6 separate regions of the Homo sapiens genome follow, and regions 2, 3, 4, 5 and 6 are each linked to region 1. The links are contacts of gene promoters, found by promoter capture Hi-C in human tissues and cell types (Jung and others, 2019). All regions are on one chromosome and are shown on one strand. Each heading gives the region's core, a stretch centred on a gene start or on the middle of the fragment in contact. The rest is flanking DNA. Distances are from core to core; before and after follow the strand shown. Region 1 holds the start of UBE2I (ubiquitin conjugating enzyme E2 I). Region 2 holds the start of GNG13 (G protein subunit gamma 13). Region 3 overlaps JPT2 (Jupiter microtubule associated homolog 2). Region 4 overlaps CRAMP1 (cramped chromatin regulator 1). Region 5 overlaps CRAMP1 (cramped chromatin regulator 1). Region 6 holds the start of SOX8 (SRY-box transcription factor 8).

Region 1 (3,453 bases), core at 325-2,824:
TGAGTAAGTGAGGGAGGGAATGAGTTTGTGAGAGTGGGAATGAGTGAGGGAGGGAGGGAATGAATGAATGAGAGAGGAAATGAGTGAGGGAGGGAATGAGTGAGGGAAGGAATGAATGAGTGATGGAGGGAATGAATGAATCAGTGAGGGAGGGAATCAGTGAGGGAGGGAATGAGTGAGTGAGGGAGGGAGGGAATGAATGAGAGAGGGAATGAGTGAGGGAGGGAAGGAATGAATGAGGGTGGGAATGAATGAATGAGGGCGGGAATGAATGAATGAGGGCGGGAATGAGTGAGAGTGAGAATGAGTGAGTGAGGGAGGGAATGAATGAGTGAGGGAGGGAATGAGTGAGGGAGGGAATGAGTGAGTGAGGGAGGGAATGAGTGAGGGAGGGAATGAGTGAGTGAGGGAGGGAATGAGTGAGTGGGAATGAATGAGTAAGTGAGGGAGGGAATGAGTGAGTGAGGGTGGCAATGAATGAGTAAGTGAGGGAGGGAATGCGTGAGAGAGGGAAGGAATGATTGAGTGATGGAGGGATCGAATGAATGAGGGAGGGAGGGAATTAGTGAGGGAGGGAGGGAATTAGTGAGTGAGGGAGGGAATGACGGAGTAGGGGAGGGAATGAATGAATGAGTGAGGGAGGGAATGAATGAATGTGGTCACTCCCCGCGGTCCCCAAGCACCCGGACACCGTGACCTTGGCTGCGGCCCCGCCGTCGGCGAAATGCGGGCGGGGGGGCCGGGAGAGCCCGGGGGCCAGCACGGTCGCGCGTTGGCGAACGGACTGTCCCGCGCGCTCGCGGGTCTGGGGGCCTCCCGACCCGGTCCTGCTTGTTGCGTGGGCGGGAGGGGGGACCGGAAGCGCCCCTCCCCCACGGGCTCGCCCCGCCCCCGCCGCTCGCGGTCCCCCACGTCCCGCCCGCGCCCCGGCCCAGGGCCAGCCCCCGGTTTAGGGAGCATCCACACTTCTCCTCCCGTCGGTCATGCTCGCATTCGGCCTTTTGTACGGGGTCAGCTCATTGGGCGGATGAGAAGGTGTCCCCGCCTACCGCCCCGAACTGGCCAATTGCAAGGGGTTTCACAGGGCGCTGAACTCGCGGGAGCGTCACCGTCCTGCGACGCTTCAGAGGATCCTTAGGCCTCAGTGGTCTTTGACCCCCGGCCCCAGGACCTGACCCCAAGGAAACCTCCGGGACCTGTGGCTGGAGAGGTGACCGCCAGGCATCCGGGGAGCCTTTGGAGATCTCGGCTTCCTTTTTCCCCCGCTGCTTGCCGGCGTGTCCTCGGGTGGACGCGGGCAGCCCGAAGGGGAGTTTACAGACGCTCCCTCACATCGGGGACGCGGCTCCTTTAAGGGCGTAGGTGTCCAGGGCGCCGCCTGACTGGAAAGTCGCCCCCCGGCCGGGCTCCTGGGGCGGACCCGGGGCGCGGGCGCGCGGCGGCGGGGCGCGGGCAACGGGGAGCGCTCGGCGGCGCGGGAGGCGCTCGGGGCCGGGCGGCAGGAGCGGCGCGCGAGGCAGGCGTGCAGAGGGCAGCCCCGCGTTAGGCCCCGCCCCGCGCGCCCCGCCCGCGCCAGGGTCCTCGGAGCTGCTCTGGCTGCGCGCGGAGCGGGCTCCGGAGGGAAGTCCCGAGACAAAGGGAAGCGCCGCCGCCGCCGCCCCGCTCGGTCCTCCACCTGTCCGCTACGCTCGCCGGGGCTGCGGCCGCCCGAGGTGAGCGCGTGCGGGGGCCGGGCCGGGGCCGCGGGGCGGGGGTCGGGCCGAGGCCTCTACTCCTGTTGGGCCCGGGCCCCCGACTGCCCCGCGCCCCGCCCCGCCGAGCCGGGCCCCGCGCCGCGGCCGAGCTTTCCGGGGAGCCCGAGAGGCCCCGCGCTCGGCGCCGGCTCGGTCCGCGCTGCTGGCGCCGCTGGGCTGCGGCCCGAGCGGCCGGGCCGCCGCAGGCCTTCGGGGCCGGGGCTCCCCCACTTCGCCCCCGAGGTGCGCCTGGCGCGGGGCCGGGGCAGCCACCTGCAGCCGGGGCCCCGCGAGGCCGCGCCTTCCTCCTGCGCGGGGAGCGGCTTCCGGGGTCACGGTCGCCCCGCGGACGGATAGGATGGGCCGCGGGGGGAGAGTCTTGGATTGCAACATCGCTGGCTCGCGGGGGTGGGGGCCGGCGAGCGGGCTTGTTTTCGGTGCCTTAAAACCAAAACAAGTGTAAGTTTTCTTGTGCCTCTGAAGATGCTCCGCTGGCGCTTGCTGGGGCCCTGAACGTGAGCGCCTCGCTGGAGGGGGAGTTTTATTCTGTTTTGGACATCTCTTTTTATCGGTTGAATAGTAGTTGGTTCTGGTAGTTAACGTGCGTAGGAGGAATGTAAGGGAATGATTAGTTGGGCTTGTGATCGTGGCCTGTAGTCACGCTTGAATCGCAGAATGAAGTGGTTTTGTTTGTATAATTGGAAGTTACGCTTAGTTTCTCTGTTTGCAAAGTGCCTGTCTTTGGGGAGTTCGGTTTGTTTCCTTTTACAGGACCTACCCCAAGTGTTTCTTGCTCTTCAAGAAACGTTGCCTTTGGGTAGAGAACCTATGCAACGGAAGACGGGACGGATCCTCAGTTTGCCCTGATTGCTCATTCAGAGAGGTCCGTTCCCTAGGCCACTGGGTGATTGCTGGTGTGCGCTTGTATGGTGTCTCAGGGTTTGGGATCTTGCTTCAGAAACATTCTCGGGGCCTGGGGCAGATCAGGTGCGGCCAGGTAAGCGTCTCCCGACTGCAGGTGCTTGGGTCTTGCAGAAGGGAATACCTCCCCAAGCCTGGGAGAGTTTGCATTTGGGTGCAGGAGGGCCTTTAAAGGCTTCTTGTGCCAGCCTGTCGTGGCGACCACCCGTTGTGGAGATCAGTGCGGTGGAGTTGTGGGAGGTGAGTGCTTTGCTCACCCTCAGCCAGGAAGTTGCTCTGAAGTCGGTGCTGTCAACCAGCAGAGCAAGGCGGTGATCCGAGAAGCTAAAGCTCAGCCGGTTGCGGGCGCCCAGCAGGAGGACAGAAGGCAGACTTTCGGGCCGCTCCTGGAGTGCCCGGCCCTGTCCCCGTTTCTGCAGTGTCTGGGCCTTGCCTGGCTCTAATAGATGAGGGTTGTTTTTGTCTTTGCATCATAAAAGTTTCTTGCTCTGAAGCGTTTAGTAACTACTAGCCGTTCACTAAGTGCCTATCTGTGAATTTGGAAGGGCAAATTCGATTTTCAGCGGAATTTTGAACGCTTGATCTGTGTTGTGATTACATTGTAACAGATTGGCCGCTTTCTCCAGAAGGCCAGTAGGAGGGGGTGCAGGGGGAGGGGCCTGGCTTCTGTCTGGGACACGGTGGGTGTGCACCTGTGGCTCCTTGCCCTGGCGGTGCAGTGCCTGTGAGACCACCCCGTGGTGCTGAGTGCTTTGGGGCAGGGGACACAGCAGCAGCAGCCAGGTCTTGGCAGGAGGTC
Region 2 (3,453 bases), core at 477-2,976, 510 kb before region 1:
GCTGGAAGGCCAGCTGGTACTTGAGGCTCTCCACCTCTTTCTTCATCTGTGGCACGTCCCACTCCTCCATGGGGTCAGGGGCTTCTGAAGCAGCCAGCCTGGGGCTGGAGGGCACAGGAGGAAGCCACAGGGCCGAGGCCACCAGCCTGTAGTCCCCACCCCCGCTGCTCCCCGCAGGCCTGAGCTGAACCCCGCAGGATGAAGCGGGGAGAGTCCACACCACTGCCTGGGCCAGTCCCCTAGGCGTTGCTAGGGTGCAGGGCACAGAGCGAGTTCCCACAAGGCCCCAGCTCCCGCCTCCTGCACTGGGACTAATTAACTGCAAGAAACTTTACATCCTCAGCTACTCCCCCATAGGCCCCCACACCTTACGAAGATCCCTTGCAGGCAGGAGAAAGGGTGCTCAGCACGGCAGGCCCCCAGCTCCTACCCTCCCACTGAGGCCCACGCAGGCTGACCCAGACCACGGTGTGAGGTGTGGGGCGAGGTCCTCAGGAGGTGGCCCCTGCCCCGCCCCGCTGTGTGCCCCTTTGCTTTGCATGGCAGAGCCCAGTCCAGAGCCAGGACTCCTGGACAGGAATGTTCTGCTGCAGTTTGCTTCTCTGGCAGGTGGGGTGTGTGCTCAGGATCTTGGGGGCTCAGGCTATACTACCCGAGTCTGGGATATGGGCTGTGGGTGGCCCCTGGGTCCCCAGTGTGTCTGGGAACCACACACGTTACCTGCGTGCTTTCTGCTTGTGGCCAGCCTGGGAAAGCCACAGGTTGACACCCCTCAGAACTGCCACAAGTTCGAGGCAAGTGGGGGTGGGTTGCCCCCTGCCTCTCCCCCTACCCACTCCAGGGGCCCAGGGAGTCCCTCACTCCGTCCCAACTCTGGCCCCCGTCCCCAAGGTTGGGAGACAGGGCTGAACCTTGGGAGGGTGGGTGGGGGTTGGCGTCAAGTTTCGGGGAGCCTGCCTCTGGCTGTGAAGGGGGCTCCTGGCCCAACAGTCTCCCCATCCTTTGGTCGTGCAGCTGCACCGGCCACCTAGGGAGGGGCCCAGGGCCTGAGGCTGGTGGGGTCCCGGTGGTGAATTGGGCAGACTCCCAGCAGCCAGCAGAGGGTCTGCCCGTAGTGGGGTGGGAGGCCGGGGAGCGAGCGGGGGCAGGTTTCTGGGGGAGTGATCAGGGTCATGCAGAGGATTCCCTCCCGGAGACTCTGGAGTTCCAGCACCCCTACCCGCCCCCATCCCCGGTGCAGGCCTTTTCTCGGAGACCCTACACTCAGCCCCGTGGGCGCAGGACTAGCTGCGTGCGGGTCCTCCCAGGCCCGGGGTGTTGGCGCCCCGCCCACAGCCCAGTCCTTGCTGCCCAGCCCTACCTTCGCGCAGCTGCCGCCAAGCCTGGCCACCCACCCCGTGCACCCCGTGGACGCCCCCAGCCACGGGACTCGGTGGGCACTGCAGGCGGCGCACGGCGCTCAGATGGACACAGCTCCCCCGCACCGCGAGAGCCGCCTCCCTGCCTGCAGCACCGGCTCGGGTTGGGTTTTGCTGCCTGCGGGGCAGCTGCCCTCGCCCCGGGAGTTAGGGTGAGCCCAGGGGACTGACCTGGGCCAGCTGAGAGTCGAGGGGCCTCCGGGCCCTCCCTAGCCCCGGGCGCCTGTTCATCGGACCTACCTTGAAAAGGTGACAGCGGAGGGACAATGACAACGGCCAGGCGACCGCGAGTGAGAGCGAGGGCCAAGTGATGTTCCGGGAGTCCGCCAGGCAGAGCCCTGGCTGTGCCCCGCCCCTCCCGCCACCTGGGCCCTGGCGCCGCCCCCACACCCTCCTCAGGGCTGGGCTGACCCCAGAGATAGCCTGTGCTGCCCCCTCCCCTGGGCTCACCCAGCGGATGGACATGCAGCCAGGGGCCAGTGTGGGGCTGGTCCATTTTCCCTGAGGGGCCAGCTTGGGCCCTGGTGGAGAGGTCTCCTTCCACTTGAGGGGGTGGGTTCCCCCTCCAGTGTCCTGGGCCAGCCGGGAGGAGTGGGGATGGGGCTGGGACCCTTTGCCCTCTGAAGCCTCTGCAGCCTGCAGGGTTCAGGTGACACTCAGCTGTGCCCCCCTGACAGAGGCATCCTGTGTGGGCCATGTGGCTCACCCTGGGATGTGAGCCTCTTACTGCTAGGGGCCCCGGGGCTCTGTGGAGCTCCCTGCTCCAGCCCGATCCCCTGTTCCCAGACCAGTGGCCGGCACGGGGCAGCTCCCGAGGGCAGGAGAGTGCCGTGCTTTTCAGTCTGATCTGAGCTGAGAGTGGCGGCCTGAGGCGTCCCCAACACCGGTCCACTGTGGGTGCTCTGGGGCACGCTGCCTCGGGAGAGGTGCCCCCAGCTGCAGCACTTGGGCTCGGGTTGTGTGACCTCAAGGCTCTGGGGAGAGGGCTTCCCTTTGGGGCTCCGCACCTGTCAGCCTGCAGAGCTGAGACTGGCCCCTTTTCCTCTGACACGTTTCCCCGTGTCTCCTCCCACCCTGCCCTTGGGTGTACCCCTTGGGCTCCTGTGGGAGCTGTGCCCTATGTACCAGCAGGTGACGTACATACCAGGCTGCATCCTAGGTGGGGGCGCCCAGGCAGCAACAGCAGCCTCTGGGGGCACAGGGCCAAGCTCCCCAAACAGTCCCTGCAGAAGCTGGGCCACCCCCGGGGAAGCGTGGGCCAGGCCCTCGGTGGGTGCTGGCAGGGCCAGGGGCCTGTGAGCAGGTCACTCTGCCTTCCCCAGTGTCACAGGGAACCGCCCGGCCTGCCTGGGGTGGCCCAGACCTCTGCAGGGGTTGTCGGGGAGAGGTGGGCCCTGTCCCTCTCAGGCGCTCAGGTCCCTGAAGTCACTCAGCAGGACTCCCTGCCAGTGTGACTCCGTGAATCGGGGCCACCTGCACCTCCCGCCCTGATGTGTGTCGGCTGGATCAGAGGCGCCTCTGGAACTGGGGCACATTAGGGAAGGGATTATTTTTATTATGGATTTGGGGGTGGGGTGGGGCAGCTTAAAGCCCAGGGCACGAGGCCTCCTCCTCAGGGCAGATGGTTGCCCCTCTTGGCATGGTGGGGGCTAGACGTCTCCCTGATCCCAGTGCCCGCCCTGCCCTGCCTGTGCCCCCTGGTGCTGTGACTTCGGATGCACCTTAGTTTCTGGGCTGCTGAGGGCTCTCCCTGTGGCTGGGGGCACCACTTTGGGCGCCAGAGAGTGGAATGGCTGTTAGGGGAGGGGTGTGTGCCACCCCAGGATGCAGGCAAGGCGGGGGGGACCCCAGGGCATGTCCCCCACGTTCCCTGGGACAGCAGGTGGCTTGGAGCCAGGGCCAGGCGGGGGAACACCCTGAGGTCCGCAGCTGAGTTGTGAGAGCTGGGGGTTCTGTGGCCACTCTCAGGACCCCAAGCGGCCTTTGCATCTGCTCATCTGGAAGGACCTAGGAGGTCTCCTAATGGGGTCGCCAA
Region 3 (3,453 bases), core at 508-3,007, 390 kb after region 1:
ATGAAAAGCCTGTCTATATTGTCTTCTCTTTCCCAGTTACAGCATGAATTTCTTGCAGGTTGCTCTATGACACACTTTTTATTTCCACAGCCTGCCTGTCAGGGTCATGGGTTGCCTCTAATGGGATGTTGTTCTAACTTTGTGTCCCACAGCTGCAAGGAGCATCCCGGCTGGAGCAGAGCCAGGTGAGAAAGGCAGCGCCAGAAAAGCAGGCCCCGCCAAGGAGCAGGAGCCCATGCCCACAGTCGACAGCCATGAGCCCCGGCTGGGGCCGCGGCCTCGCTCTCACAACAAGGTCCTGAACCCACCGGGAGGCAAATCCAGCATCTCCTTCTACTAAGAGAAGCCACTGCTCCACCCGGAGCCAGACCAGAAACTCAAGAGATAGGGTAGCCATGTTTTCATTTCCTTTTGCCCAAATGAGCGGGGTGGGAAGAGGGTTAGTCTTATGTGAGCCTGGCTGCTCAGCGTCTCCTGGCCGTCATGACAGCTGCTTGGAGACCCGTGCCTTCCAGATGGCTGGGAGATGCCTCTGTGGGGATGAAATGGGGCACCCCTGGCCATCACTCATGTGTAGTCCAGGTTTGAGAGGAACTGGAAGGGGGGTGAGGGTGGGGAGGTGGGGCAGGGCATGGTCCTTGGATCAACAGCCCGCCAGCTGATTGGATGTCTAGGAATGACTGAAAGAAACCAAAACAGCCTGTCCACTGCTGCTGTGGGATGGAGGAGGCGTAAGCAGAAACACTAACAGTATATTGACCTCTTAGCAGAACCGCTTCCATTCTGGAGATCACGGCTGCTAAATCCAGCATCCCCACTTCATTTTACCCCCAGCATATTGTTCTGTAGTCTTTTCTTGAAACATCTTGATTGCTTTTCCTCGGCAGCTTTCAAAAAACCAAATAATAATAGTTATCCGTCTTCTACTTCATGGAAGATTGTTTTGGTGCCCTGACCCTCTGAAGTGCCCAGTTCCTGCCATCTGAAACCTCGGCCTGATCTGATCTCATGTTGGAATCTGCCTGTCTTTCACACAGGGCTGGTCTTGGTCCTTTACATGCCAGTTTTGCTTGTGAATTCTTGCTTTTTTCCTCTCATCAGCCTTAAGTTTAGGCGTTTGTTGTTCTCCAGTGATGTAGACAGTTCCCTTCACAAGTCACAGTTCTTCCCATAAATGAGGCCCGCTGACCTCTGCGGGACTTTAAAAATCTATTCAGATATTTCCGAGTAAGTGGCTTGTTTAAATTCTTCCTGTGTCTTTCTTTATTCCTTAATTGGTTGGTGGAAAGAAGAGATGCTTGGGAACCTTGGGTTCTTAGGTTTGGATTCTTTAATAATATCTAAAAAGCTAAATTTTAAATACCAGCTTTACATAAATGATTGTTGACTCTGGTCTGTTTCTGACACCTTTCCAGAAAAAAGTCAATTGTTCAGGTACACCAAAGAGGAAGAAGAGCTGTGGAGGCCACCCTCTACAAAGCTTTATAGAACTTCTGGATCTAACTCACAAACAAGCTTCCAGAAGAGACTAGAGACCTTAGGCCAGGAGATGAAGGAGTTCAGTAGCAAAGTCACACCTGTCCAATTCCCTGAGCTTTGCTCACTCAGCTAATGGGATGGCAAAGGTGGTGGTGCTTTCATCTTCAGGCAGAAGCCTCTGCCCATCCCCCTCAAGGGCTGCAGGCCCAGTTCTCATGCTGCCCTTGGGTGGGCATCTGTTAACAGAGGAGAACGTCTGGGTGGCGGCAGCAGCTTTGCTCTGAGTGCCTACAAAGCTAATGCTTGGTGCTAGAAACATCATCATTATTAAACTTCAGAAAAGCAGCAGCCATGTTCAGTCAGGCTCATGCTGCCTCACTGCTTAAGTGCCTGCAGGAGCCGCCTGCCAAGCTCCCCTTCCTACACCTGGCACACTGGGGTCTGCACAAGGCTTTGTCAACCAAAGACAGCTTCCCCCTTTTGATTGCCTGTAGACTTTGGAGCCAAGAAACACTCTGTGTGACTCTACACACACTTCAGGTGGTTTGTGCTTCAAAGTCATTGATGCAACTTGAAAGGAAACAGTTTAATGGTGGAAATGAACTACCATTTATAACTTCTGTTTTTTTATTGAGAAAATGATTCACGAATTCCAAATCAGATTGCCAGGAAGAAATAGGACGTGACGGTACTGGGCCCTGTGATTCTCCCAGCCCTTGCAGTCCGCTAGGTGAGAGGAAAAGCTCTTTACTTCCGCCCCTGGCAGGGACTTCTGGGTTATGGGAGAAACCAGAGATGGGAATGAGGAAAATATGAACTACAGCAGAAGCCCCTGGGCAGCTGTGATGGAGCCCCTGACATTACTCTTCTTGCATCTGTCCTGCCTTCTTTCCCTCTGCGAGGCAGTGGGGTGGGATTCAGAGTGCTTAGTCTGCTCACTGGGAGAAGAAGAGTTCCTGCGCATGCAAGCCCTGCTGTGTGGCTGTCGTTTACATTTGGGAGGTGTCCTGTATGTCTGTACGTTGGGGACTGCCTGTATTTGGAAGATTTAAAAACCTAGCATCCTGTTCTCACCCTCTAAGCTGCATTGAGAAATGACTCGTCTCTGTATTTGTATTAAGCCTTAACACTTTTCTTAAGTGCATTCGGTGCCAACATTTTTTAGAGCTGTACCAAAACAAAAAGCCTGTACTCACATCACAATGTCATTTTGATAGGAGCGTTTTGTTATTTTTACAAGGCAGAATGGGGTGTAACAGTTGAATTAAACTTAGCAATCACGTGCTCAGAGCTTTTGCCTGTCAGTTGTGTGTGTCCCTTATAGTCCCTTCCCCCACAGCTCTTGCTGAAAGAGTTTGCCTTGTTTTGTTTTGTTGTTTTGTATTTAGCCAGAGGATGCCAAAATTAGTCTTCTCAAAGCTTTGAGTAGAGTAAGTGTGGGAATAAGCCAGTTTTTTTTTTTCTGTTTCTGTAACTTAAATGAACGGGTTTTTTTCCCTTGTATGCCACTTGTCCTAACATGTCCTTAAGGTGTTTAACCTGCCTCTGACCTGGCTTGCAATGCATAGGTGAGGAGAAGCAGAGAGCTTGTCATATGCAAGTCCTGTCAAGAAAACAGGTGGGCATGGTGGCTCAGGTCTGTAGTCTTTGGGTCTTTGGGAGGCCAGGGTGGGAGGATCACTTGAGCTCAGGAGTTTGAGACCAGCCTAGACAACATACTACGACCCTGTCTATACAAAAAAAAACTTCTCTAAATTAGCCGGATGTGGTGGTGCATGCCTGTAGTCCCAGCTACTCGGGAGGCTGAGTGAGGCAGGAGGATCACTTGAGACCAGGAGGTTGTGGCTGTAGTGAGTGATGATCATGCCACTGCACTTCAGCCTGGACCACAGAGCAAGACCCTGTGTAAAAAAATAAAATAAAAAACAGATTGGATGTCTTTCTTCTGATGTATTAGCTATTTTCATATGTTTT
Region 4 (3,453 bases), core at 425-2,924, 360 kb after region 1:
GTGCTCCCATCCTAACAGCAGGACCTTTGAGTGGCATCTCCCTGTCATGTTGAGCTGCGGTGCAGGGGAACTGGGATGGGCTCTGCTGTCCTCATGCTTCTCCCACGCCCAGGGTAGTGATAGGAGGAGTCACTGGGGCAGGTTCTTGAGGGGAAGGCGAAACGTGGTTTGTGACTCTCCACTTTTGACGAGATGCAGCGTCCCTCTTTGTTGGCCAGGCCATCTGGTTGTAGCCCTCAAGGCGTCCACCACATGGTTTGTGTGGCATTCGTGGGCAGGTCAGGCTTGCAGGGTGAAGACAGGCCCGTTTCACTGTGACGTAAAGTGCAGAGTGGCAGGTGTGTGGGCAGTCGGGTGAGGGCTCTATGGACAGGGAGGGAACTCCAGGTCCAGGAGATCATCCGCATGGGCTTAGCCCATGTGAAAGTCCTGGAGCAGCATTCCCCGAATCTAGTCCCCACAATGTTGAGACATTGGCAGGTGTTCCTTGAGGATTTTGTGGGTAGATACTTGAGGGACACCCTGGATCCAAAAAAGCTCAAAACAGCTGTTTCTCACGGACACCTCCGCTACCCAGTATCCGAATGTGAATCGTGACTCTTGAGATGATGAACTCATGGGCAGGCTTTGGAGAATTCCAAGCCAAGCCATGATATGACTGGAAATTTTAGCCAAATATACACATAGACACAATTAATAGCGTAGACCTCCATCTCACAGTGTGTGGCGTTTCTCAAACCTGTTTGGCCCCAGAATCATTATTCAGGGCACACCTTGGACTCTGATGTTTCCCGAGAAGCCAGTCTCTGTCTCTTCCCCTGTTTGTGCGCATGTTCCTAAGTGCTGGGCTCTGTGGAGATGGGCGCTGCGTACGTGCCCTGAGGCAGCATGCTCACGCCATGCTGTTGAAAGGACGGGCCACAGCCCAGTGACAGGAGCCCCTTGGAGTCAGAAATCCAGAGTGTTAGCCTCACCCCAATCAGAATTTGCACCTTTAATAAAATCCTGGGCAACAGATGGCACTTGGGAGTGAGTAGCAGAGAAAGGGTGCAGTTAGTATTTGTGAAACGCTGCCCGTCGCGAGTAATGCAAACGTGTTCACCTTCAGAAAGAGCAGATCAGCGTTTAGCATGAGATTTTCCCGAGAGCCCTCCACTCAGAACGTGAGTATGTTTCTCAGCAGGTCCTCGTCATCTGGAAGGATGGGCTGAGGCATTTGTGGATGAAAGGGTCTGGTGGTAGGGCTAGCATGAAGGGGGCGGGGGTGGAGCTGGGTGGCCCTGGGATGAAACGGGTGGGAGCTGCTGATGGACATACAGGGGAAGGAGAATTACTCTTTGCTCTGCTTTTGAAAACAAATTTTAATTTGTCTGACATTTCCCATAATCAAAGCATAAAATTTCATTTACGCCATAGCTCTATTCAGAATTTTCCAGACTTCTTGCATTCACAGTGTCATGCAGTTCATTAAGGGATATTTCTGCAGGGTCTGCTGTGTGCAAACAATGGCCCCTGTCCTCATGAGGCTTCTACTCTAGAGCAGGACGCAGACAATAAGCGCTGAAAACGGCACATTCTACGTATTTGCTCATGGGACAAGATCCCGGTGCCGAGGCCCTCCCGTCCTCCGTCTCCTCAGCTCTGTGCTGCCTCACTCACTCTGTCATGGCCACCACCTTGGTCGTGCTTTTCAGTCAAAGCCTCTTCCTGTCTCAGGGAACATGCCTGTTGCTTCTTTAAAAAGGAACGTACTCCCCATGTGTCCTCATGTCTCTGACGGGAACGTGCTCCCCACATGTCCTCAGGACTGATGGGAACGTGCCCTCACCACATGTCCTTGGGATTCTGACGGGATCGTGCCCTCCACCTGTCCTCATTTCTCTGACGGGAACGTGCCCCCAGCTCTCCTCATGTCTCTGATGGGAACGTGCCCCCAGCTGTCCTCATGTCTATGACGGGAACGTGTCCCCCACCTGTCCTCATGTCTATGATGGGAACGTGTCCCCCACCTGTCCTCATGTCTGTGATGGGAACGTGCCCCCCACCTGTCCTCATGTCTCTTGACGGGAACGTGTCCCCCACCTGTCCTCATGTCTATGACAGGAACGTGTCCCCCACCTGTCCTCATGTCTGTGACGGGAACGTGTCCCCCACCTGTCCTCATGTCTATGATGGGAATGTGTCCCCCACCTGTCCTCATGTCTATGATGGAAACGTGTCCCCCACGTATCCTCGGGTTTTACCCCACCTCCCGCTCAGGTCCCAGTCCTTGGAGCACCCTCTCTGGCCTCCTTTTCCCGGCACTCTCTGTCCCCTCACTCTGCATCTGTTTCTGCAGGCTGCCCCCAGTGCCTGTGTCTGCTGCATACAGTCTGTCTACCTGTTGGGTGTCTTCCCCCATAGGTCTCATGGCGGGCGGGGGGACCAGCACCCTCACCCCAGCCATCAGATGTGCCAGGCACATCATAGGCTCTCTGCGAGCACTTATCTAAAGAGTGTGCGGGCAGACGACAGGTGATTGTGATTCTGCACAGAGCCCTGGGCTGCCATCCCTAGCTTAGCTTCCTGCAGCGGGAGTCGATAGGAGCTTCTCGTCCTGTTTCAGGACCCGCCCTCCACTGAAGGGCCAGCAGGTCGCGGTGACTTGTTCTTCCTGTCTCCTCTTCCTGCAGGTTGTGGATTCCCAGCTGGTGTGCATGATGAACGAAAACAGCATTGATTACATTTCTCGGTTCAATGACCTGGCCCAAGAGCTGTCCATCGCTGAGCCTGGCCGCCGAGAAGCTCTGTTTGATGGTGGTGGAGGCGGCCCCGCTGTCAGTGACCTGTCCCAGTGACCACACGTCCTGGTGGCGGATGAAGCCCTCTTCGAGCTAGAGAAAAATAGATAAGCCCAGCAGCCCCAGAAGATGGTCTGAACAGAGGCATCTCCGCACCCAAGACTGTGCAACGGGCAGGAACGTGGTCACAGAGCTGCTTCCCCACGAGCAGCAGGCAACGGCGTCCAAGGAGACTAGGATGAGTTCTTGGCAAGGGCCAGCGTTAGAAATCACTGTGGTACTAGAGCCGTTCTTCACCACGCCTGGGCCCATGTTAGGGTCTGCATAATGATCCCATTTCAGCCTGTGCTCTGCCTCGATTGTTGTGTTGGACATTCCGGTGGCATTTCCTTCTGAGACAAGGGAGTATGTGTGCCTTGGTGTAGTTGCTGTGCACTAGGAGCTGTGATCTCCCTCTCTGCAGGGAGGCCCCAGCCCCTGCTGCTTGCTTTCTGCCAAACCTGTGCTATGCATCAGCTGTGCCCTCTGTGGACTGTAACGGGCAGGACAGTTGGGTGTGGCCTGGGCTCATGCCTGGTGGTGTCACATCCCAAGGCAGCAAGAGCATGGATACCGATCACAGGGCTGCTGCGGAGTCGTGGGGCCCTGGGCTGGTGCCTCCCCTCCCTAGAGG
Region 5 (3,453 bases), core at 312-2,811, 330 kb after region 1:
CCCGTCATCCAAGGCTGTTGTGGTTAATGTCAGGTTGTGGTGAGTGGCCTTGTGCCTTCCAGAGTGGCACGCAGCACCGACTTTTCATTGTCGGCCTCTTCCTGTGTCGTCTGTCCTTTGCATCGTTCATTAGTGCCTTTTTGAAAGACAGTCCAGGCTGCGCGCGGTGGCTCATGCCTGTAATCAGCACTTTGGGAGGCAGAGGCGGGCGGATCACGAGGTCAAGAGATCAAGACCATCCTGGCCAACATGGTGAAACCGCATCTCTACTAAAAATACAAAAATTAGCTGGGCATGGTGGTGCACACCTGTACTCCCAGCTACTCGGGAGGCTGAGGCAGGAGAATTGCACCACTGCACTCCAGCTTGGCCACAGAGCAAGACTCCGTCTCAAAAAAAAAAAAAGAAAGAAAGTCAGTCCATGAGAGCAGATCTGCCATCCACTGTGGCTGGTCTTGAAAAGCTCTCTATGGGGGAAGCTGGCCAGCAGCGGAGGGGACTGGGCAGCTGTTTAGTAGATGAGGTATAGAGAGAGGGATGGGATTCCAGGAGCTTCGGTCTAGTGTGCTTTGCTTGAACCATCTGCGGGCAGGGTGGGAAGCGTCTTTGGACCCTCAGGCTCCTGGCGTAGACTTATCTCCTCTTCTGAGGTTCAAATGCACATTCTACTTGCCAACCCAGGCTCTCTCCCATGTCAATTTCAGAAGGCAGTCAAAGCAAACATTTCTTTTCTAATTGTGTCACCTTTCCCTGTTAAACAACCTCCTAATCCTAAACTTGCTGGTGCGAGGAGGCCTCATTCCTCTTTGGCCCTTCTGTCCATCTAGGGTGAAGGGTAAATGCTCCCTCACACCTCTCGGTGGGGGGTCACACCCAACACAGGTCCTTTTCCCTTCTCCGTGTGGGCCCCTGTGCTTCCCTCTCTTCCTGACCTGGCACAGCAGGCTCCTACAGCCTTGGTGTCTCCTGTTCGTGCATCTTTGGTGTGACCCCACATGATGTGCCTTCTTCCTGTTGAGCTCACCGTTCTCCCGTGTTCTCCCGGGTTCTCTGATGGCCCTGACTGTCTCTTCAGCAGGGCTGTCTGCCTCCGTGCCAGCGGGCAGCGGCATTGGGGCACCCGATGCTGACTTGCCCAACAGGAGCATGAGGCTGGAGGCCACTAGGACACTGCGAAGTGACTGGCCCCATGGACTGTCATTGCGCATCAAACAGAGTGGCAACTTTTTCACGTTACATGTATTTTTGGCGTGCTTTGGAGTTTTGTTTTGTTTTGTTTTTTGAGCCAGAGTCTTGCTCTGTTGCCCAGGCTAGAGTGCCATGGCGCACTCTCAGCTCACTGTAACCTCCATCTCCCAGTTTCAAGCGATTCTCATGCCTCAGCCTCCCGAGTAGCTGGGATTACAGGTGTGCACCACCACACCCAGCTAATTTTATATTTTTTAGGAGAGATGAGGTTTCACTATGTTGCCAAGCTGGTCTTGAACTCCTGAGCTCAGGAAATCCACCTGCCTCGGCCTCCCAAAGTGCAAGGATTACAGGCGTGAGCCACCACGCCTGGCCTGTGCTTTGGAGTTTTGAAGAGCACACCGTGTGCACTTTATCATGGGTTTGTCTGACTCATCTTGTGGCGTGAGACACAGAGTGGTGGCAAGCGAGCGTGGAAGGGACTGACTCCGCCCCCAGCTTGGGGGCCTTGCGTGTGTGTTCGTCTTACTAATCTCCCGTGGTTTCCATGCACATCTGCGTTTCCTTGCTGCTGTCCATTGCTCAGTGGAGATTTTGCTTCACGAACTCAAAGTTGGATGAGGTGAGCTTGGTTCCTGTCCCTGAGTGTGTAATAAAACATGAGGTGCCACCTAGGAGGCCGTGGGGCCAGGCGGGGCATCAGGGACACCTCCCGGAAGCCCTGCTTCGTCCCAGGGTCCCACCTCCCCTGGGGTCCCTTGTCTGCAGTGTCTTGCTCTTGGTGCTACTTTCTTGTTTCTGGGTTGTGGGTTTTTTTCTTTTTGCCATTTCAAATAGTGGACTTTAAAATATATATTTTAGAAATGGGGATATTATTCACCCTTTTAAAGCATACAACTTAGTGGTTCTTAATGTACTTACAAGGTTATGCAGCCATTGCCACTCTCTAGTTGCAGAATATGTCCATTGCCCAGGAGGAAACCCTGTGCCCCGGTGCTGGGAGCCCTCAGTTTACTACCTCCTGTCTCTATGGATCGTTCTACTCTGGATGTTTCATAGAAATGGGATCACGTGCTATGTGTCCTTCTGTGCCTGGTTTCCTTCACTCAGCGTCAGGTTTCAGGGTTTGTCTGTGTTGTAGCGTGTGCCAGTCCTTTGTATGGCTGGATTATTTTCCTTTGGGTGGATGGCCACATTTTGCTTGTCTACTGAATAGTGGATCTTAAAGCTTTCCGAGTCATGGGCTCCTTTAAGAAAGTCTGATGAGGCCAGGCGTGGTGGCTCACGCCTGTAATCCCAACATTTTGGGAGGCCGAGGTGGGCGGATCACCTGAGGTCAAGAGTTTGAGACCAGCCTGACTAACGTGGTGAAACCCCGTCTCTACTAAAAATACAAACATTAGCAGGGCGTGGTGGCGCATGCCTGTAATCCCAGCTACTTGGGAGGCTGAGGCAGGAGAATCCCTTGAACCTGGGAGGCGGAGGTTGCAGTGAGCTGAGATCGCGTCACCGCACTCCAGCCTGGGCAACAAGAGCGAAACTCTGTCTCAAAAAAAAAAAAAGAAAGAAAGAAAAAAAGAAAGTCTGATGAGCCCTTAGGTCTTAGGTCTTTCTCTCAGAAGAGCCTTTGAGAGCAGTTGGCCTGTGCTTAGCCGTGTCCGAGACCCATGGTCCAGAATCCTCCTCATATCTTGAAAGCCTGCTTCTCCATTTACCAGTCTTAGGGCCTTGAGAACAGGTCTCTGAGGAGAGAACTAGAGAGGACAATTGTGAGAGTAGAGGGGACAAATGGCCTTCACCCCTGCTCTGTGAAGTGACCCAAAGGGGCCTGGACTGTGTTGTCACTTGGTTTCCCTAGCAGGATTAGGTCTGGTGTAATACAGTAACAAAATGCAAAATAGCAGTGGCCCAAGCGCCTCAGAATTCACTGTCTCGTGGCAGAGACGCCTAGAGGCTGGCGCCCAGGGCAGGCAGGACCCAGGTGCCTCCCATTCTTGTGCTTGGCTGTCCTTGGTGACAGCTCCAGGCAGTGGCTCTTGAGGAAAGAGGGGTGGGAAAAGGGGAACCCTCCTGCCCAAATCAGGCTCTTTAAGGAGGCTTCTGGAAGTCTCCACTACTTCCAGTGGTGTAGCCATGACCAGCTGTCCATGTCTCAGCCTGTTTGCCTCCCAAATAAAACAGGGGCCTTGGCTGGGCACGGTGGCTCATGCCTGTAATCCCAGCACTTTGGGAGGTTGAGACAGGTAGATCATTTGAGGTCAGGAG
Region 6 (3,453 bases), core at 687-3,186, 330 kb before region 1:
CCCCCACTTCTGCCTGCCTGCATCCCAGGCCTAACAGATGAGTTCCGCGGGCGCCCCAGGCGATGCTCTGAGGGCCACGGAAGGATGCGGGGACCCCGAGCGGAGGGCAGGGCCTCCAGGGGGAAGAGGCACTGCAGACGGAGGTGTGGGTCTTCCCAGGCAGGTGCCGGAGCCAAGCGAGATGGTGGGACGGGGAAGAGAGGGCAGGCCAGGCTGGCAGCCAGCTCTCCACCTACGATGCGTGGAGCCTCCCAACTCGCGCACTCCGTCTCCCCACCGCTGCTTCCTCTGACCTGGCTGCAGAGATGAGACCGCCCTCCGGGCAGGTGACACGGCCCTTGCTCTTCAGCCTGGAGGCCAATGCTTCCTCCAAAGGCCCTGGCCCCCTCAGCTCCGGGCCTGGCTCCGGTTGTTCCCAATGCAAAGCAGCAAGGGCCCCGGGGTCTGCGGACGGGGGCGGGCGGCCGCTGGGGGCACCAGCTCTCGGCCGGGCCAGAACAGGGGGTAGGAGGCGCGTCCTGTGCGGTCGGTGGCGGCCCCAGGTGGGTGCGGTGCGCTGGCAGGAAGCGGCAGCACGACCCCCGACTTTGCATCTGGACTTTTCTAGTAACGGACCAGCTCCTTCTGCCGACCGGGCCGGGGAGACCGCGTGGCTCAGTGGCTGCAGCGGCCACCGGCCCGGGCGTGGGGGCTTTGAGGGCACCGGCGCGGTAGGTCACCCGGGTTTCGCGGGCCGCAAGCTCGGAGACGCGCGTGTCCCGCGTTGGCTGCCTGACCCGGAATGGCGCAGCCCCTTCGCCTCCAGCGCGCTGGTTGAAAGGATCCGAGCCACCCTCGGGGACGGCCGGGCCGAGGCCACCTCGCGGGGCGGCCTTGGGCGGGGACCCGGACCCGCGGTTGGACGTTCGCCTCGGGGGGGGCAATGTCCCCTCTCCGACCCCGCGGTCCCCACCAGGGCGGCACACCCCGCCCTCTCCCCGCCTCCGCAGGCGCCCAGGGCTCACAGGCTCGGAGCGGCCTCCGCCTCTGCCGGACCACCCAGGGCCGCCCCGCCGGAGGGGCCTCCCCGCCCCCGAGCCCTAGGTCACGCCCGGAAGGCCCGGGGCCCCCGCGTCCGGCCACGCCATCCGCCCGGCGGCCCCAGGGACTCAGCGCCGGGGTCAGCGCAGGCCCCGCCCAGCGCTCCCGCCCCCTCCAGCTGGCCGGCCCCCGGGACCGCGCCCCCGCCCGCGCTCTCCACGCTCGCACTCGTATGGGCAGGGCGGCCCGGGGTCCCCCAGCTCCGAGCCGCGGCCCCTTGAAGCGCGTTACCTGGACGTGCGCTGTCCGCAGACTCTGGACGAGCTGGGCCTGGGCGCTGCGCGGCGGAACCGACCCTGTCCTGGACCGCAGGCAGCAGCTGACCCCGCGCCACCGGCCTGCGGGCGAGACCTCAGGCGCGAGACGGGCTGTGTGTGTGTGTGTGTGTGTGAGAGAGAGAGAGAGAGAGAGAGAGAGAGAGAGAGAGAGAGAGAGTGTGTGTGTGTGTGTGTGTGTGTGTGTGTGTGTGTGTGTGTGTCGGGGGAGGGGCCCGAGGACCCGCTTCCTAGCTGAGCGTCAGGACGGGGGGCGGACTCTCAGGAGCCGCGCGGCGCCCGCAGAGGAGAGGAAGCGCCGGAGACCCCCCTGCTCCCACCCGGCCTCCCTGCCCCGCTTCCTTTCCCGGGGCTCCAGAGAGGGGAGCTCCAGGCGTGGGGCGCCTGGCCCACGTGGTGCGGCGCCGGGCGGGGCAGGCGGGGGCGCGGCGAGAGCCGCGGAGCTTTCTTTATGGGTGGGGGGGCGGGGGCGGCCGGGCTCCGCCTCCGGGGGATCGGGGCGCGCTCCGCCAATGGGTAGCCGGGCGCGGGGCGGGGCCGCGGGGCCGCCGCTTAAAGAAACTTGTTGCGGGTCCCGCAGCGGGACCCGAGCCTCGGCGGCGGCGGCGGCGGCGGCAGGGGCGAGGGTCGGGGCCACCGCGCGGCGACCTCGGGTCCCGGAGCGACCGCAGGGCAGCCCCGGGCGCCGGCCCCGGTGCGCGTCTCCTGTGCGCGCCCCTCCGCGCGCGGCCCCGATGCTGGACATGAGCGAGGCCCGCTCCCAGCCGCCCTGCAGCCCGTCCGGCACCGCCAGCTCCATGTCGCACGTGGAGGACTCGGACTCGGACGCGCCGCCGTCTCCCGCCGGCTCCGAGGGCCTGGGCCGCGCGGGGGTCGCGGTGGGGGGCGCCCGGGGCGACCCGGCGGAGGCGGCGGACGAGCGCTTCCCGGCCTGCATCCGCGACGCCGTGTCGCAGGTGCTCAAGGGCTACGACTGGAGTCTGGTGCCCATGCCGGTGCGCGGCGGCGGCGGCGGCGCGCTCAAAGCCAAGCCGCATGTGAAGCGGCCCATGAACGCATTCATGGTGTGGGCGCAGGCGGCGCGCCGCAAGCTGGCCGACCAGTACCCGCACCTGCACAACGCCGAGCTCAGCAAGACGCTGGGCAAGCTGTGGCGGTGAGTGCCGGCGCCCCGGGGGCGGGGTTCGGGACCTTGGCCGCCCCTGGTCTCGGACTGCGAGCGGGGGCCTGGAGGGCGCAGAGCTCGCGGAGGTGGTGGCCACACGCAGGCTCCGGGCTCTGCACCCCGGGCGGGTGTCAGGGCGGGTCCCAGTGGAAAAACATCCTCTGGCCAGCCGGGGTCCGGCGCCAGCTATGGGAGTCGGGATCCGCGGAGGGCAGCGCCTGGGGTGTGCACCCTCGTGGCGGGTGCGCTCTGGAGCCAGTTCTCCTGGCGGGGAACACCCTGCGGAGGGCCATGGCTGGCACCCCGACGTGCCCTCCAGCCGTTGCGAGTGGCCCCAGCCCCGGGAGGCACGCCCGGCACGACAGCAAGTTGCATGCGGCTCTCTGGAGGTGCTCCCTCCTTAGAAAGGGCTCAGCTCCTCTAGCTCCTGGACCACCCATGGGGAGGGAGTGCGGCAGGCGGATGGGTGGGCAGCAGGTTTGCCTGCGAGTACCCTCCCCGCAGTTTCTCCCTCTCCTGGACACCCTCGGTCCGAAGCAGGGAGGGCAGGAGTGGAGATGACGGGGTGCGCCGTGTGCACGCCTTGGCGTGGTGGGGCCGGTCAGTTTTCCAGAAATTAGGACTGCAGAGTGAAGAACTTGTTGCTCAGGACAGGCCGCCCCCACCGAGTGTCCTCTGGTTGGGTTTCAAATGGTTCTCTTGGTTTGGGGCTCTGGTTCCCGTATCCTGCTCCTCACCTGGAAGAAGGGAGCTTGGAGCTTGCGTATTTGCACCTCCTGCCTTCTGTCTGGATCTAGGGCGCAGCCACGGGGCGCTGTGGACGGCAGGCCCCTGCTCCCCCAAGTCCTGCCGCACAGGCGGTTGGAGGTGAGCCTCGGGAAGAGTCCCAAGGAGTGTGTCCTGTGGCTCAGTGAGGACGGGCGCCTGGGCCCT

What was found. Contacts are between HindIII fragments. The study calls those that stand out against the background at their distance.
Region 2: a contact is called between the fragment with the promoter of GNG13 here and the fragment with the promoter of UBE2I in region 1, in 1 of the 25 tissues and cell types used here (dorsolateral prefrontal cortex).
Region 3: a contact is called between a fragment that was not itself captured here and the fragment with the promoter of UBE2I in region 1, in 4 of the 25 tissues and cell types used here (IMR-90 fibroblasts, dorsolateral prefrontal cortex, lymphoblastoid cells and 1 more).
Region 4: a fragment that was not itself captured here is called in contact with the fragment with the promoter of UBE2I in region 1 in 1 of the 25 tissues and cell types used here (dorsolateral prefrontal cortex).
Region 5: a fragment that was not itself captured here is called in contact with the fragment with the promoter of UBE2I in region 1 in 5 of the 25 tissues and cell types used here (dorsolateral prefrontal cortex, lymphoblastoid cells, mesendoderm cells and 2 more).
Region 6: the fragment with the promoter of SOX8 here is called in contact with the fragment with the promoter of UBE2I in region 1 in 2 of the 25 tissues and cell types used here (lymphoblastoid cells and pancreas).

What each region holds. Positions count from the first base shown.
Region 1 is chr16:1,308,062-1,311,514 of GRCh38, forward strand. It overlaps UBE2I (ubiquitin conjugating enzyme E2 I), which reads left to right and starts at 1,575. Exons shown (of 7, transcript NM_003345.5): 1 at 1,575-1,712. RefSeq lists silencers at 644-933, 1,424-1,723, 1,924-2,113 and enhancers at 1,144-1,383, 2,085-2,696. The HindIII fragment of the contact is 23,762 bases long and covers 1-3,453 here.
Region 2 is chr16:799,008-802,460 of GRCh38, forward strand. It overlaps GNG13 (G protein subunit gamma 13), which reads right to left and starts at 1,727. Exons shown (of 3, transcript NM_016541.3): 1 at 1,659-1,727; 2 at 1-104. The coding sequence starts at 70. RefSeq lists enhancers at 1,416-1,965, 1,966-2,515, 2,516-3,065. The HindIII fragment of the contact is 13,916 bases long and covers 1-3,453 here.
Region 3 is chr16:1,698,659-1,702,111 of GRCh38, forward strand. JPT2 (Jupiter microtubule associated homolog 2) reads left to right here. Exons shown (of 5, transcript NM_144570.3): 5 at 153-3,428. The coding sequence ends at 340. Among named protein-coding and RNA genes, the nearest start is that of MAPK8IP3, 5.8 kb to the right of the region's middle. The HindIII fragment of the contact is 5,896 bases long and covers 1-3,453 here.
Region 4 is chr16:1,671,209-1,674,661 of GRCh38, forward strand. CRAMP1 (cramped chromatin regulator 1) reads left to right here. Exons shown (of 21, transcript NM_020825.4): 21 at 2,673-3,453. The coding sequence ends at 2,837. Among named protein-coding and RNA genes, the nearest start is that of JPT2, 5.3 kb to the right of the region's middle. The HindIII fragment of the contact is 5,726 bases long and covers 1-3,453 here.
Region 5 is chr16:1,633,635-1,637,087 of GRCh38, forward strand. The region is part of intron 4 of CRAMP1 (cramped chromatin regulator 1); the gene reads left to right. Among named protein-coding and RNA genes, the nearest start is that of CRAMP1, 23 kb to the left of the region's middle. The HindIII fragment of the contact is 4,859 bases long and covers 1-3,453 here.
Region 6 is chr16:979,834-983,286 of GRCh38, forward strand. It overlaps SOX8 (SRY-box transcription factor 8), which reads left to right and starts at 1,937. Exons shown (of 3, transcript NM_014587.5): 1 at 1,937-2,511. The coding sequence starts at 2,090. CEROX1 (cytoplasmic endogenous regulator of oxidative phosphorylation 1) reads right to left here and starts at 1,780. Exons shown (of 3, transcript NR_164343.1): 1 at 1-1,780. It also overlaps a transcript of LMF1 not described here. The HindIII fragment of the contact is 8,118 bases long and covers 1-3,453 here.